2 separate regions of the Homo sapiens genome follow, and region 1 is linked to region 2. Evidence: promoter capture Hi-C in human tissues and cell types (Jung and others, 2019). All regions are on one chromosome and are shown on one strand. The core of a region is centred on a gene start or on the middle of the fragment in contact, and the rest is flanking DNA. Distances in the headings are between cores, read along the strand shown.

Evidence for each region. The method cuts DNA at HindIII sites, captures the fragments that hold promoters and counts their contacts. A contact is called where the count stands out against the background at its distance.
Region 1: a contact is called between a fragment that was not itself captured here and the fragment with the promoter of TEX36 in region 2, in 2 of the 25 tissues and cell types used here (mesendoderm cells and thymus).

Annotation. Positions count from the first base shown.
Region 1 is chr10:125,578,980-125,581,679 of GRCh38, forward strand. It overlaps a transcript of TEX36 not described here. Among named protein-coding and RNA genes, the nearest start is that of TEX36-AS1, 6.0 kb to the left of the region's middle. The HindIII fragment of the contact is 4,573 bases long and covers 1-2,700 here.
Region 2 is chr10:125,681,784-125,684,483 of GRCh38, forward strand. TEX36 (testis expressed 36) reads right to left here and starts at 1,380. Exons shown (of 4, transcript NM_001128202.3): 1 at 1,156-1,380. The coding sequence starts at 1,206. LOC283038 (a long non-coding RNA gene) reads left to right here and starts at 1,460. Exons shown (of 5, transcript NR_033848.1): 1 at 1,460-1,548. The HindIII fragment of the contact is 13,590 bases long and covers 1-2,700 here.

The sequences.
Region 1 (2,700 bases), core at 121-2,620, 100 kb before region 2:
TGCCTCAGGGCCTTGGCACATGCTCATGCCTCTATCTGTCTCCTCCCCAACTCGTTACAGAAAGGACTCCTGATTAGTCAGATATTGACTCAAAAATGCCTTCCTTGGTGAGGCTTCCCTGAATAACTTCTGCTTTACTTCATTTCTGGCACACTCATTCTTGGAAAGAAGCTTGCCGTATTAGTCCGTTCTCATGCTGCTATAAAAAACTGCCTGAGACTGGGTACTTTATAAAGAAAAGAGGCTTGATTCACTGTTCCTTATGGCTGAGAAGGCCTCAGGAAACTTACAATCATGGTGAAAGAGGAAGCAAACACGTCCTTCTTCACAAGGCAGCAGGAAGGAAAAATGCAGTGGGAAGGGGGGCAAAGCCCCTTATAAAACCACCAGGTCTCATGAGAATTCACTCACTATCATGAGAACAGCATGGGGGAACTGCCTCCATGGTCTAATCACCTCCCATGAAGCCCCTCACCCAACACGTGGGGATTACAATTTGGATTACAATTCAAGATGAGATTTTGGGTGGGGACACAGTCAAATCATGTCACTTGCTTTCTCATTCCTTCAAGCCCATCTTCTTGCTCTGATTTGGTTTGGATTTGTGTCCCTGCCCAAATTTCATGTTGAATTGTAATTTCCATTGTTCGAGGAGGGTCATGATGGGAGGTGATTGGATCATGGGGGTGGATTTCCTCCTTGCTTTTCTCATGATAGTGAGTGAATTCTCGTGAGACCTGGTTGTTTAAAAGTGTGTGGCGCCTTCCCTTTTGTTCTCTTCCTCCTTCTCTGGCCATGTAAGACATGCCTGCTTCCCCTTGACATTCCACCATGATTGTAAGTTTCCTGAGGCCTCCCCAGCCATGCTTCCTGTACAGCCTGTGGAACTGTGAGGAAATTAAACCTCCCTTCTTTATAAATTACCTAGTCTCAGGTAGTACTTTAGCACAATGTGAGAATGGACTAATACAGTCTCCCCAGTTTGAAGTAAGCTTCTTGAAAACAAGAATGTTGTTAGATGTTGGTCAACATGATTTAGAAAGTACCTGTTGGGTACTTAATAAATATTAGTTGAATAAAAGAATAAATGAACATGCAGCTCTGAAAAGGCATGGTCTGTATTATTAGACATGGAGGAGGATATTTTGGAGTGTCAGCTTCTCTCCAACCAATGGCTGCTTGGTTTTTACCACTAGTTTCTTGCACATTGGACTTGTCTTTAAACCATGAAAGGATCCCTTTAACACTCATTAAAGTCAGGCAAGTGAAAGTCTTATTTCTAGTACAGGAAAGCAAAAGCGTGACTCTAACTAAAATGTCAAGTGCCCTAAGGTGTGAAAAATATTTAAAAACTTTCCATTTGCTCTTTTGTGGTAGTACCCTTTGTCAAAAGGTTTTCTCCAACTTTATTCATGCCTGATAAATGGAAGAGGAGAGTTTTCCCAGAATACCATAAAATACACCAGCTAGACAGGGCTATGAGATTTAAGTGGCTTCCTGCCTGTCCCAGTGCCTGGAGGGGTAAAGGGGAGGAAAGAAACTTTTGAGCTTGAAGACTGCTGGAGGGAAGAAAAGAGAAAACATAAACTTAGGTCCCAGAAGCTTCTGAGATGGAAGGGATCAGACCCCAACCCTTGTCACCAAGGGCCCACATTACTGAAGCCCGCTAGGTGGGCTGGCTGGTCCTGGTCAAAGTCCAATGACCAGAAAGGGTGCAAGCTTCTACTGACCTCAGCCTCCCGCTTCCAGTTACAGGCCCCATCCCTCTGACCAGGGGTAGGGAAATGACCCATCCCGGCCCAATCATAATCTTCCATCACCCTGACTACCATGATTGGCATAGGGATGGTCACATGACACAACCAGGCCCATCAGAGTCCTTTCCTGGGACTTTCCTGCCTGGAGCTGGAAGGGAAGAGTCCTCTATAATCTCTAAGGACCTCAACCCAGAGTGGCCTGAGATGGAGCAACCTGAAGAAAGCCCACTTGCTGTCAGAGAGAGTGAAAAAACCAGCAGACACAGACAAAGGAGTCCCAAGGACATTTGTGCTCAGAGTAGAAGGTGTTGGTGCCCACTCCATAGCCCCGGCCCACCTGAGTTCTCTAGCAGCAGCAGCCTAGGGACAGCTTCCCTCCCATCTCAAGTCCCCACATGTTTCCCCTCTTCCTGAGGCCTTTCTCCACCTTGTTCTGTCTCTGATGCAACCAGGCACACCCTAAACAGGGAGATTAGGTTCCCAGGGGCAACCCTCAGTCGGGGACGGGAGTTGATTGACAAACACCCCCAGCCTCCCATTCTAGTACCGAGAAGATGCTGATGCTGATGCGATGGCTTCTCAGAGGGTCCCTACCAGAAAGGCCCTGTTGCCCCTAGCATAACTCACCACTCAGGCACATCTTCCTGGGTAATTCATCCTCCCAGGCGCATCCTCCTGCGTAACTCGCCCCTCGGGCACATCCTCCTGGGTAACTCCCCACTCGGGCATATCCTCCTGGGTATTCTCAATTTCCTGTCCCACTTTTCCCCCAGGTCCTTACAAGGACTTTCTGGAAACACCTTTTAAGTAAACTACCTGCACTCACCTACTTCTCTCAGAGTCAGCTTTTAGGGAACCCAAACTAATCAGGAATGGCCTGTCTGTGGATTATCCCTAAAGCCAGTTCAGTCTCTGCCTTTTTCCCCCCTAAGGTTGAGTAATT
Region 2 (2,700 bases), core at 130-2,629:
TGTGCTCACTCATTGTACTGAGCACTTGTTAATGAGTCGTGAATCCCCCACCATGGTCTTCTACCCTTGGTACATTATGCTCCCATTTTACAGACAAAGAAACTGAGACTTAGAAAGACTAAGCTGCTTAGCCAAGGTTGTATCCAAGTGGGTAGATCAGTTTTTTAAAGCCTTCAGACCCAAATTTGCTGAAGTGTTTTCTGTTTTTCTTTGAAACAAATTAAAATTTTAACAATTTTTTACCTGTTGCTACCCTAAAAGAAGTCGACGTCAGGTTTTTCTCTGATTATGTTTCTCATTGCGAGTCTACTGCTGTGATTTCCCCTTAACATTCTTTTTGTGAATGAATTGTAGAAATCAGAAATGGGAAAGGCTTGAGGCTTGTCGGCCATGAAATATACATGTTGAAGAGCAAAGGAGAGAAGTGCTTGGCCGACAAGGCTAAGACCTCACACTTAGGAGTGACCCAAATGTTTCCTGAAGATGGTAGAAGAGTGAAAAATCCCACAGGCTCTGTAAGTGACATCAGAAGAGCAAGAGTTGGGGGAGAGCGTGAAGCTGGAAAGGGAAAGTTTTCAAGTGATGAAGATGAGTAAATGATGCATTCCTGGACTCTTCTCATTTCATAGGCCGGAGGGGCTAAAGGAATTGGATTGGGAGCCAACAAGAATTTGTTTAGAGGTTTCTAGTATAATATAATTACTTCAACACATATGTATTGAGTGCCTTCTATGCTCCAGATCCTGTTCTAGGCACTGGGGATACATCAGTGAATAAAATAGACAAAAATCCCAGCTCCATGGAGCTTATATTCTAGCAAGGGGAGAAAAATAACATAGATAAGAGAATAAGTTCTGTAGTATGTTAGAAAATAGATGTTAAGGAAGAAAGAAAAAGTAGAGCAGGAATGACTGCTTAGTGGACATTCACGAGGTTCCAGTGTGCTGAGCATTTTACATGCATTATTTCATTCAATCTTTGCAAGAGTGTTAGAGGATTCCCATGTCACAGATGAAGAAACTGAGGTTGAGTAAAGTGAAGTGATTTGTCAAAGGTCATGCTTCAGTAATAGTAGAAGCAGGATTGGAACTCCTCAGACTGTTGACCACACCCACGTGGCATGAGAAAGGCACCAGGGGCCACCATCTTCCTTACCCATCTCCCATCCTTGTCTGAAGGTGGGTTGAAGCGTCGCCCTTTGGTCATTCTCTCCAGGAAGCTGAATGTGGCTGAGATTGGCTCCCTCACCTCTCCATAAGCTCTACATGTCTGGGAAGCTGCTTCCTAAACTTCATAAGCTCTACACGTCTGGGAAGCTCCTCCTCCTCCTTGTTCCTGATCTTTACTTCTCAGCCTCTTCCAGGAGGGGAAGGTGCGGGTGCCCATTGTTGTCATGGAATGGGAACTCACCCATCACAATGGGCAAAGGAGTCTTCTAAACCCTCGGAGGATTCTTGCCACTGGTTCCTTGCAGCTGTGACTCCCCAGGGTAAGAGGCAAAGAGCCACCAGGTCCCAGCTGAGGAAGCCCTGTGGTCAGCTCAGACAGGTAAGGACAAGATGATTTGGGGGTAATGGCAAACATTTTGTACCCTCTCAATTTTTGAACCAATAATGTTTGAGTTGCATGTCCCCCTGGCAACTGTATGTTCCAACCTGTTAGTTTTCAGAGAAGTAAGTTGAGTCCCAGGCTGGGGGTGACCTTGTCTGCATCAGTGGCACTGCTGCACCCAGGACCCACGCTGCCTACCATCTCCTTCTGTGGCAGCCTCTGTGTCTCAGCTCGGACCCAACCTCAGGACTCACTCACAGCCACTCTTACCTGCCTGGCACAGCATTGAGACCATGAGGAAGTAACACTCATGAATAATTATTATATGCCAAGTGCTGTGCTAAACTAAACATTCACCTGTTTTTATTTTTTCTCCACGACAACCTTCAACATTTACAAATAGGAAACAAGGGACATACAGCAATGGATGGGATGCCACAAGTCCCAGCAAGGTCATGGGCCAGCTCCAGAGCTCATGAGCCTTGCCAAGGGCCACCTGGCATCCCCAGGGCTGCAAAGGCTGCTCGTGAAATCTGGCGTTTCTCTCGGGGCCTGGACACACACGTCCTGCCTCCCTTCTACTCAGTAAGGTGTTTTCTGCTTTTCTTTCTTTCTTTTTTTTTTTAATGTTGTGTCTTGCCAATTCTCTTGGCTACTCCGTGTGAATACGAGAGTAAACACATGCAGGACAACCTGTCCAGCTGCTCTCTCACTCAGAAATTGTGTCCTCCACCCTTTCCTCCTCCAGTCACCCTCCTAGGTTTTCCAAGGAGAGTTGCTGTAGTAGTGATAGAGGACCTTATCCACTGCCAGCACTGAAGGGCCAGAGGTGGCCCTTAGATGTGACACCGGAGATGCACAGGTCCTCTTGCACTATGATGCCAAAAGCCACATGGTAAGGAGAGGAGGAAAAGGTGGTGGGCCACCTCTTTTGGTGTTGCAGAGCTGCTGTACCAGGCAATACTGTTGTGTGTGGAGTAAACCCTTCCAGGATTTCTGCTACCTGCTGACAAACCCAGTGCAACAGACACTATTTTTCACCTTTACCAGGCATTGCCCACTGCTCTCCAAAGCCCAGGTGTAAAGAAATACTCCCAGCAGCAGCAGTGCAAGGGAGTTCTGTCGTCTCACAGCCTTGCCAAGACGCAC